3 separate regions of the Homo sapiens genome follow, and regions 2 and 3 are each linked to region 1. Evidence: promoter capture Hi-C in 16 types of primary human blood cells and fetal thymus (Javierre and others, 2016). All regions are on one chromosome and are shown on one strand. The core of a region is centred on a gene start or on the middle of the fragment in contact, and the rest is flanking DNA. Distances in the headings are between cores, read along the strand shown. Region 1 holds the start of FPR1 (formyl peptide receptor 1). Region 2 overlaps LOC107985342 (a long non-coding RNA gene). Region 3 has its middle 20 kb from the start of DPRX.

Region 1 (3,515 bases), core at 308-2,807:
TTAGATTCTCATAAGGAGCACACAACCCAGATCCCTGGCATGCACAGTTCACAGTAGGGTTCACACTGTTATGAGAATCTAATGCCGCCACTAATCTGACAGGAGGCAGAGCTCAGGCAGTAATGCCAGCAATGGGGAGTGGCTATAAATACAGATGAAGCTTCTCTTGCTCACCTGCCAGTCACCTGCTGTGCAGCCCACTTCCTAACAGGCCACAGACCGGTATCGGTCTGTGTATTGGTCTATGGCCTGGAGGTTGGGGACCCCTGCTGTAATGTGAAGTCAGGAGCTGTGGTAGCTTTCTTGGAGCCATGAAGTGGCAATCCCCAGGAAAAAAAGTCACCATATTAGGGATAAAAAAGAGAAAAGATTAAAATGAATGTAGTTCTTGATGATATTTTCCAGATATAACCTAACCTAGTATTACCCTCTTGCAAAATTCTTGTAAAGTAAACCATAAATTTCGTCTTGGTTCTAAGCTAAGCTTGTCCAGCCCATGGCCTAAGATGGCTTTGAATGCAGCCCAACACAAATTCATAAACTTTCTTAAAACATTATCAGATTTTTGGGGGATTTTTTTTTTTTTTTTTTTTTTTAGCTCATCAGGTATCGTTAGTGTTAGTGTATTTTATGTGTGGCCCAAGACAATTCTTCTTCTTCCAGTGTGGCCCAGGGAAGGCAAAAGATTGGACACCCCTTGTTGAAGCCATTGTTAGGTGTAATTGTAAATTATAAATTACTTAGAATTAAAAACAGCCCGGCTCATGCCTGTAATCCCAGCATTTGGGGAGGCTGAGGCAGGAGGATCACTAAACCCAGGGGTCTGAGACATGCCTGGGCAACGTAGCAGGATACTGTCTCTAAAAGAAAAGAAAAAACAGTCTTAATGCAACAATGCCTTGGTAATAATGCTTTTAGAATCAGTGTCGTTATCTCTGATTCTGTAACTGTCTTACCATATTTCTCCATATCACTCTGATACCCTTGGAAGGATGCTTAACATTTCAGAAAAACGGTTATTTCTTTGGGCTAGAAGACTACAAATGAGCTTCCACAAGATCAGAGGATTATGGGGTTAATCTTGGTGGTGTGCATGGGTGTGGACGCGCTGTCCTGCCAACTGTCTCAACTTCCCCCACTCCCTTACCTCTCTCTGTGTTTCTGGTCTCCATCCCTCATGACTTCTTCTCTTCCTTTCATTGCCTCCCTCTGATTCTTCTCACCACAGTGCTTGCTGCTTTCTTTACCTTGACCCTTGGAGGGAGCAGGGGCCCGGACACTTGGATTTCTTGGCCCTTGTTGTTGAGAGCACTGAACCTCTGCATCCCACAGAGACTGAGGCTGAGAAATACAGTCAGGTACATGAGTTTCTAAACAGGCCCAGCCCACTGTCCTAATGCCATTAAAGCAGACAGTATATTGGTGTATTCTTGGGGCCATCAAAAATCAGAAGAAGCTCAGACTTCCTATTTCCTGCTACCCAGCTGGTTTTAGTTCCTTTACCCCTCCTCCTGTTCCTTGGTGTATGTTTTGCTGCAATCATTAGAGCCTGAGTCACTCTCCCCAGGAGACCCAGACCTAGAACTACCCAGAGCAAGACCACAGCTGGTGAACAGTCCAGGTAAGAAACATATTCTGGGGGACTGGGTAGCTTGACATAGACACACTTAATACACTGGTGAACACAATAGACTCTTTGTTTGAAGAAGGATGTGGAGTTGAAGAATAATTTTTTTAAAGAGGTTCTAAACAGGCCGGGCACGGTGACTCATGCTTGTAATCCCAGCACTTTGGGAGGCCAAGGCAGGTGGATAACTTGAGGTCAGGAGTTCGAGACCAGCCTGGCCAACATGTTGAAACCTCACTTCTATTAAAAATACAAAAATTAGCCAGGCGTGGTGGTGGGCGTCTGTAATTCAAGCTACTTGGGAGGCTGAGGCAGGAGAATTGCTTGAATCTGGGAGGTGGAGGTTGCAGTGAGCTCAGATTGCACCACTGTACTCCAGCCTAGGTGACAGAGTGAGACTCCATCTCAAATAAATAAGTAAATAAATAAATAAACAAATAGGCTCTAGACTTTATTGGGGTCCTGATGGGAATGATGGAATATAGAGACACTATGAGGCTGCAGGAGAGAGAAGGGATAAGTGAAGGAGGGAAGTTCTTGAGTAAATGGGGGAATGAGTTTTATGGGACCAGTAGAGGGTAATTCTTGGATGGAAACACTTGTTTTCTGGTTACAGAGATGAGGGCAGAGAACAGTGATGCAGGAGCCAGCAGGAGGAGAATCTGGTGGAGCAAGAGGCAAGGGCATCAGCTTGAGGGCTTGAGTCGGGATGGGAAAGGATGTTTGGTTTGAAGCTTTCAGGAGAAAGCAAAAGAGCCCTAACGACTTTATGATGGGTCATGGGGAAATGAGTGTAATACAGAAGCAGTCACCTTTCGGATCAGTGATGAGTCTCCACGTGAAGACACTGGTTCTGCATGGTGCATAGGACCCAGTAGCGGAATACAGCCCTGCCCTCTCATGAATCTGCAGACATTGGCTGTCATTTCTCATCAAGCTCCTAGTTTCCTCTTCCGTCACACAGGGATGATGATGTATAATCAATGCTGAGTTTGTTGAGATCAGAGGCAAGAAAGTTGAGGATGTGGTACAATGATTATCAAGCATAAAGTCCTTCATCGATGGCAGCCACCAAGGCCTGTGTTCATTGCAAATCACAGGATTTTTCCCTTGAACCATAATTGGACAAAATTGCACAGGTTTTCCTCTCTGGTATGTTCCAGCTCATTATTGCAGAATCCTCATCATTCATTGCAACAATCTTCTGAACTGGTTGCCTTAGAGATTCTTGAGGACAAAGAGTCCTCAGGGTATTTTGGTGGTTGGATGGGTGGTAGGGGAGGGAGACATCTCTGAGTTGTTTCTGAGATTGTAGAGTATCAAAGTTCATTAGAAATGTGAGACACATATGTAATTTCAAAGTGTCAAGTAGGCACTTTAAAAAGGTGAAGAGAAACATGCGAACTTAATTTTAATAAAATATCTAACCTAAACTTAAATAGCCAAATTATTATCATTTTAACATGTAGTCAATATAAAAACTATTAATGAGATGGTCACAATATTTTTTTCATACTAAGTCTTTGAAATCTGATGGGTATTTTACTCCTACAGCCTGTCTCCAGTTGGACTAGCCACAATTCAAGTGCTTGAAAACCACATGTGGTGAGTGACTAGTGCATTAGACAGCTCTTCTGTGCCAGTAGCGTGGCAGGGCAGAGGCAGAAAGAGACTTTTGCTGGAATTCGACAGCCTGGGCTGTTGGGTGACTTTAAGGAATTAACTGAAATGCTCTAAGTCGCACTTTCCTCGTCTGCAAAATGGGTACCATAAAGACAGTGACCCTCATAGTAACAATTTTGAGGAAGGCTGCTGCAAGCATTAGAAGAGAAGACCAGGCCGGGCGCAGTGGCTCACACCTGTAATCCTAGCACTTTGGGAGGCTGAG
Region 2 (3,515 bases), core at 373-2,872, 1.9 Mb before region 1:
GGGTCATTTGTTAATTTTTTTATTTAAAAAATTTTTTTAAAATTATTATTGTTTTTTTGAGACAGAGTTTCACTCTGGTTGTCCAGGCTAGAGTGCAGTGGTATGATCTTGGCTCACTGCAGCCTCTGCCTCCAGGGGTCAAGTGATTCACCTGCCTCAGCCTCCCGAGTCACTGGGATTACAGGCGCGCACCACCATGCCTGGCTAATTTTTTTATTTTTAGTAGAGATGGGGTTTCACCATGTTAGCCAGCCTGGTCTCGAACTCCTGGCCTCAAGTAATCCACATACCTCGGCCTCCCAAAGTGCTAGCTCACTTCAGCCTCAACCTCCTGACCTTAAGGGATCCTCCCACTTCAGCCTCCTGAGTCAAAGTTGTTGGGATTATAGGAATGAGCCACCACACCCAGCTACGTTTTTTTTCAATTTTAGATCTCCTCGTGTTACCTAGGCTGATCTGGAACTCCCAAGCTCAAGCAATCCTCCCATCTCAGCCTCCCAAAGTGCTGGGATTACAGTCCTGAGTTACCACACCCAGACAATTACTGGAAGAGTCAATGTTGTCACCACTCCCCAATTTCTGTATGTAATTTCCTCCCAACCAGGATACCCTGCCCCCTCCCCTCAAAGTTCCTCCACTGGGCCAATATCCTTGCATCTATTCAACTCACAATTTTAAAGTCACGTCTTCAAGAGGAAGCCAGCACCCTCGTACCCAGGTGATGGCCCCTGTCACGGCAGCCTATAAACCTACTCACAGTACAGTACAATTGACGTGGAATCATCAGTTGCAATAATTATCTGTGCACGCCTTTGCTTAGTATTTACCTTCCTGGGGTTTATAACACACCCATACGCATGTGGAGGACAATCATTCTCCCCTCCCAACGTGGTCTAAGTGTTTGTGAAAGGTAATACTTTCCTCAGTTTGACTCCAGACTGGAACCTTGCCTGGCCAGAGCCAGGTCCTCAAAATGAACATTAATTGGAATATGAAGAAATAACAAAGAATGGGCAGGAGGCAGAAGGGCATCAGGACAAATAGCTAATGGCTGTGAGGCTTAATACCTAGGTCAATAGGTTCAGCAAACCACCACGGCACGCATTTACCTATGTAGCAAACCTGCACATCCCGCATGTGTATCCCAGAACTTAAATTAATGAAAAAAGAAAGAAAGAAGTAACAGAATGAGGGCCTGGCGCAGTGGCTCACGCCTGTAATCCCAGCACTTTGGGAGGCTGAGGCAGGTGGATCACCAGGTCAGAAGTTTGAGAACAGCTTGGCCAACATGGAGAAACCCCATCTCTATTAAAAATTAAAAAAATAAGCCAGGTGTGGCGGTGGGCGCCTGTAATCCCAGCTACTCGGGAGGCTGAGGCAGGAGAATTGCTTGAACCCGGGAGGTAGAGGCTGCAGTGAGCGGAGATCGCGCCATTGCACTCCAGTCTGGGTGACAGTGCCAGACTCCGTCTCAAAAAAAATAAATAAATAAAAGAAAGAAAAGAAAGAAAGAACAGAATGAACAAGCCAAAAGCTTTTTAATGCAAATTTGAAAGCTAGTGGAGGGTTTGGGAAACCAGACAGGCCTGCAGGGATCAGGGCTATTTCAGGGCTGATTTGCAAGACACTGAACTTTACCCTAATTCTATAGTCACCCCGCCCCCTCCAAACACCCCTAAATACAGGCGAGCGCTCTCTGAATGAAGCTTTCTTTCTCTCTTTTTCCAAATACCCAGCCTTCAAAGAGATGAATGGATTTCTTTGTGACACTCTATTTACTGTTTTAGAACCTTCACTCCCTAAACTCTTCATTCTTCCTGAAAATCTTTTATGGATCATCTCGGGGCTGTAATCCCATTCTGTGGAGAGCAGGAAGTTTTTTAAAAGGTCCCCAATCACTTTTTAGCCGGGGGGCGAGGAGAAACCAAGGGAAGTTGGGAGAGAGAAATTCTTCCTTTCTTTTTTTTTTTGAGACAGGGTCTCAACTGCCTCCCAAGCTAAAGTTTACTGGTACAATCAAGGCTCACTGCAGCTTCAACCCACTCCTGGGTTCAAACAGTCCTTCTACCTTTGACTGCCAAGTAGCTGGGACTACACCATGCGTCTGTAATTTTTTTATTTTTTGTAGAGACGGGGGCAGGGGGGAGGGGTCTCACTATGTTGCCCAGGCTGGTCTTAAACTCCTGGGCTCAAGTGATCCGCCTGCCTTGGCCTCCCAAAATGTTGGGATTACAGGCGTGAATCACCTGAGCTCACCTCAGCTTTAATACTGAATATTAAGCTCCTTGAGAAGTTGGATGTATCCATTTTGTCCACCAAGGCATCCTGATACTTAAAAGGATTCCATGTGTGTTTTCAGTTCTGGGTTTAGAATGTCTTCATCTACATGAGGAAAACCACCTCCACTTCCTGTATTTGTCTCAAAAGTCACCTTTGATTTGGTGATTCCTCAGAAAGTTAAATATCACTTCAGTTAAGTTTAGGGGGGAAAAAGTTAAACACAGAATTACAGAATGATCTACTGGGCGCGGAGGCTCATGCCTGTCATCCCAGCACTTTGAGAGGCTGTGGCGGGCGGATCACGGGGTCAGGAGTTCAAGACCAGCCTGGCCAACATAGTGAAACCCCGTCTGTACTAAAAATACAAAAAATAAAAAAAAAATTAGCAGGTTGTGGTGGCAGGCACCTGTAATCCCAGCTCCTCACTGCAGGAGAGTCGTTTGAGCCCAGGAGGCGGAGGTTGCAGTGAGCCAAGATCACACCATTGCACTCCAGCCTGGGAGTGAGACTCTATCCCACCCCCAGCAAAAAAAAAAAAAAAAAAAAGGAGGAATTGCAGAATGATCTAGCAATGTCACCCCGGGTATATCCAAAAGAAGTGAAACAGGGTCTTTTTTTTTTTTTTTTTAACTTAGGGCTACCTCGTCTCTCCAGTAAAAAGCAGGGTTTGGGCCAGCGTGGTCGCTCATGCCAGTAATTCCAACACTTTAGGAGGCCAAGGCGGGTGGATCACCTGAGGTCAGGAGTTCAAGACCAGCCTGGCCAACATGGTGAAACCCTATCTCTACTAAAAATACAAAAATTAGCCGGGCATGGTGGCACGCGCCTGTAATCCCAGCTCTTCAGGAGGCTGAGGCAGGAGAATTGCTTGAACCTGGGAGGCGGAGGTTGCAGTGAGCCGAGATCACGCCACTGCACTCCAGCCTGGGTGACAGAGCAAGACTCTGTCTCCAAAAAAAGTTTGATTTGGTACTATCACGGAGATCATAATTTAAAAAAAATTATATATATATATATATATATATATATATATATATATATATATATGTATACGCACAATTACAAATAAATAAATAAATAATAAAGTTTGACTTTTTCCCCAACTGACATTTGACTTCATATAATTCAGTTCCATTTAAATGACTTCAGAAGCTTCTAGGCTGTGGAAAGGGGCTCCCTCTCCTGGTTAAGATCTGCCAGCTCTTACAAGTTCCTTTTCAGGTCTACAAACCACT
Region 3 (3,515 bases), core at 538-3,037, 1.9 Mb before region 1:
ATCTCACAAGAGGCCAGGCGCGGTGGCTCATGCCTGTAGTCCCAGCACTTTGGGAGGCCGAGGTGGGCAGATCCCTTGGGGTCAGGAGTTTGAGACTGGCCTGGCCAACATGGTGAAACCCCCGTCTCTACTAAAAATACAAAAAAAAAAAAAAAATTAGCGGGGCATGATGGCACGCACCCGTAATTCCAGATACTTGGGAGGCTGAGGCAGGATAATTGCTAGAACCTGGGAGGTGAAGGTTACAGTCGAGCTGAGATGGTGCCACTGCACTCCAGCCTGGGTGACAGAGCGAGATTCCATCTCAACAACAACAACAAAGATCTCACACGTGACAACGTGCAGTGACCTCCCCCCTCCTCTTGGACCCCATATGTGAGCTGTTGATTTTGGTCTTTGAAATACATAGATCCACAAGAGTTTGACAGGCGCTTTGAAAGCTTAGACTGTGGCAGGCTAATATTGGGGCTCAGAAACCGATAACCTCAAAACAAAGGCTTCCGAAGCAGCTTCAGAAGCGGAAGTTTCTTCCTGACCCTCCTTCTCCCCCAAGGCTAGCCATAGAAACTAGAAACTGTCTTTCCCAAAGTGAGCCATAGACACCAGAATCCCTTTTCCCCAAATCCTGCCATAAAACCTAAAATCTCTGACTCTAATTTTCCCTCCATCTTCCCTGTAAACACTGACCATAAAGGAATTCCTGTCCTATCTTGTTTGGTTTTAGGTCTATGACCCTCATTCCAGAGAGGCTTCTGCCCTCTGCCCAGCAGGAGGGAAGGCTGCTCAGAGAGGCCAGGAGGAATGCAGAGAGACAGGTTTGCTGGGTTCCCCGTCCGCCCGACCCCTGCAGTCTATGACCTTTAGATCAGATCCATTTTGTCCAATCCTATTTCTTTTCTTTCTTCCTTTTTTAAAAATATTCTTTAACATAGAGAGGGGGTCTTTTTTTTCTTTTTTTCTTTTTGAGACCGAGTCTCACTCTGTTGCCCAGGCTGGAATGCCGTGGCACAATCTCAGCTCACTGCAACCTCCGCCTCCCGGGTTCAAGCCATTCTCCTGTCCCGGCCTCCCAATTAGCTAGGATTACAGGCGCCTGCCAGCATGGCCGGCTAATTTTTGTATTTTTCATAGAGACGAGGTTTCACCATGTTGGCCAGGCTGGTCTCGAACGCCTGACCTCAAGTGATCCACCTGCCTCGGCCTCCCAAAGAGCTGGGATTACAGGCGTGAGCCACTGCACCCGGCCACGTCCAATCCTATTTCTATGCTGCTGTCTGCTTTTTTGTGTTTTGTTTTTGAGACCGGTTTCACTCTGTTGTCCAGGCAGTGGTAGGATCATAGCTCACTGCAACCTCAACCTCCTGGGTTCAAGCCACCCTCCTGTCTCAGCCTCCTAACTAGCTGGGACTACAGGTGTATGCCACCATGCCCACTCATTTTTAAATTTTTTGTAGAGATGGGGTCTTCCTATGTTTCTCAGGCTGGTCTTGAATTCCTGGGCTCAAGCGATTCTCCTGCCTTGGCCCCCCAATGTGTTAGTGTTTTACAGGCGTGAGCCACTGCACCACCCAGCTTACTTTTTTTTTTGAGGTGGAGTCTCGCTCTGTCACCCAGGCTAGAGTGCAGTGGCACGATCTCGGCTCACGGCAACCTCCACCTCCCGGATTCAAGCAATTCTCCTGTCTCAGCCTCCCGAGTAGCTGGGATTACAGGCGCCCACCACCATGCCCGGCTAATTTTTGTATTTTTAACAGAGACGGGTTTTCACCATATTGGTCAGGCTGGTCTCAAACTCCTGACCTCAGGTGATCCACCTGCCTCGGCCTTCCAGAGTGCTGGGATTCCAGGCGTGAGCCACTGCGCCCAGCCAGTTCACCTCAAATTTGAATTAGACTTTACTTTTCACATAGTCCTTCCTCCATCCTGTGAGCAACAGGACTTTAAAAATTTGGAACTCACTCACTATTCGGTTAACGTACTTTGCCTACAGAGTGCATTCTATGAAGTGTGTTCGTGTTATTCTTCTCCTCCTTAAGCATTGTCAATGTTTTTTTTAAAAATCTCTTTTTATGTCAATAAACTGTGGAAGGCATGAAATCGTACCGCAATCATCTCCTTATTTCCACCATAAATATTAGGGCCAGGCGCGGAGGCTCGTGCCTATAATCCCAGAACTTTGGGAGGCTGAGGCGGGTGGATCACTTCAGCCCAGGAGTCCAAGACCAGTGTAGGCAACATGGCAAAACCCCATCTGTACCAAAAATACAAAAATTATCTGGGTGTGGTAATGTGGGACTATAGTCCCAGCTACTCAGGAGGCTCAAGTGGGAGGATGCCTTGAGCCTGCTGCACTCCAGCCTGAGTGACACAGCGAGACCATGTCTCAAAAAAAAATTTAAAAAAATTATCATGAGAGCACTTTTTGTCTTGCAAAAAGGATTTTTTGTTTTTTTTAGAAGGTCACTTTGTGGCTGGGCTCTGTGGCTCGCGCCTGTAATCCCAGTGCTTTCAGAGGCCGAGGCAGTTGGATCACCTGAGGTCAGGAGTTTGAGACCAGCCTGGCCAACATGGTGAAACCTTGTCTCTACTAAAAATACAAAAATTGGTCAGGCATGGTGTTGGTTGCCTGTAATCCCAGCTACTTGGAGGCTGAGGGAGGAGAATCGTTTGAACCTGGGAGGCGGAGGTTTCATTGAGCCGAGATGGTCCCACTGCACTCCAGCCTGGGAGACAGAGCGAGACTCCATCTCAAAGAAAAACAAGAACAAAACAGCGTACAGTGCTCTGTCTGAAGGTGGCCTCCTTATTTGTCTACAATCAGTGGTGTCCAATCTTTTGGCTTCCCTGGGCCACATTGGAAGAAGAAGAATTGTCTCCGGGTACACATAAAATACACTAACGATAGCTGATGGGCTGAAAAAAACCCAGAATCACAAACAAACTCGTAATGTTTTAAGAAAGTTTCTGAATTTGTGTGGGACCACATTCAAAGCCATCCTGAGCTGCAGGCAGCCTATGGGCCGCTGGTTGGACAAGCTGGGACTCCACATCAGCCCTTGCACCTGCCCCCGGCAGAGCTCCAGCTTCAGGTGTGTTTCTTCACTATAATTTACTAAACCTGCAGCTAAGCTTTCTAAGTGGCAATATTTCACTTAGGGTGGTATAAAATTAAAACAGCCAATGAAGGGAACTTTTTTCTTATTTGATACATAATAATTGTACATATTAATGGGGCACGTGATATTTTGATACATGAATGGAGTAGGTAATGATCATCATGTCACGGCATCTAGGATATCCAACCCCTCACCCATGGATCATTTCTTTTTCCTTCTTCTTTTTTCTTTTTTCGAGACAGAGTCTTGCTCTGTCGCCCAGGCTGGAGTGCAATGGTGTGATCTCTGCTCACTGCAACCTCTGCCACCCAGTTTCAAGCAATTCTCCTGGCTCAGCCTCCTGAGTAGCTGGGATTACAGGCATAAATGCCACCACACCCGCCTAATTTTTTTTTTTTT

What was found. Contacts are between HindIII fragments. The CHiCAGO score rates a contact against its expected background, and 5 or more counts as called.
Region 2: a contact is called between a fragment that was not itself captured here and the fragment with the promoter of FPR1 in region 1, in 5 of 17 cell types (naive CD4 T cells, fetal thymus, total B cells and 2 more). The highest score is 7.9, in naive CD4 T cells.
Region 3: a contact is called between a fragment that was not itself captured here and the fragment with the promoter of FPR1 in region 1, in 1 of 17 cell types (fetal thymus). The highest score is 9.2, in fetal thymus.

What each region holds. Positions count from the first base shown.
Region 1 is chr19:51,749,920-51,753,434 of GRCh38, reverse strand. It overlaps FPR1 (formyl peptide receptor 1), which reads left to right and starts at 1,557. Exons shown (of 2, transcript NM_002029.4): 1 at 1,557-1,621. The HindIII fragment of the contact is 1,877 bases long and covers 487-2,363 here.
Region 2 is chr19:53,659,474-53,662,988 of GRCh38, reverse strand. The region is part of intron 2 of LOC107985342 (a long non-coding RNA gene); the gene reads right to left. Among named protein-coding and RNA genes, the nearest start is that of MIR512-1, 5.4 kb to the left of the region's middle. RefSeq lists enhancers at 869-1,758, 1,759-2,648. The HindIII fragment of the contact is 172 bases long and covers 1,537-1,708 here.
Region 3 is chr19:53,610,156-53,613,670 of GRCh38, reverse strand. It overlaps a transcript of DPRX not described here. Among named protein-coding and RNA genes, the nearest start is that of DPRX, 20 kb to the left of the region's middle. RefSeq lists enhancers at 1-920, 921-1,914. The HindIII fragment of the contact is 2,689 bases long and covers 443-3,131 here.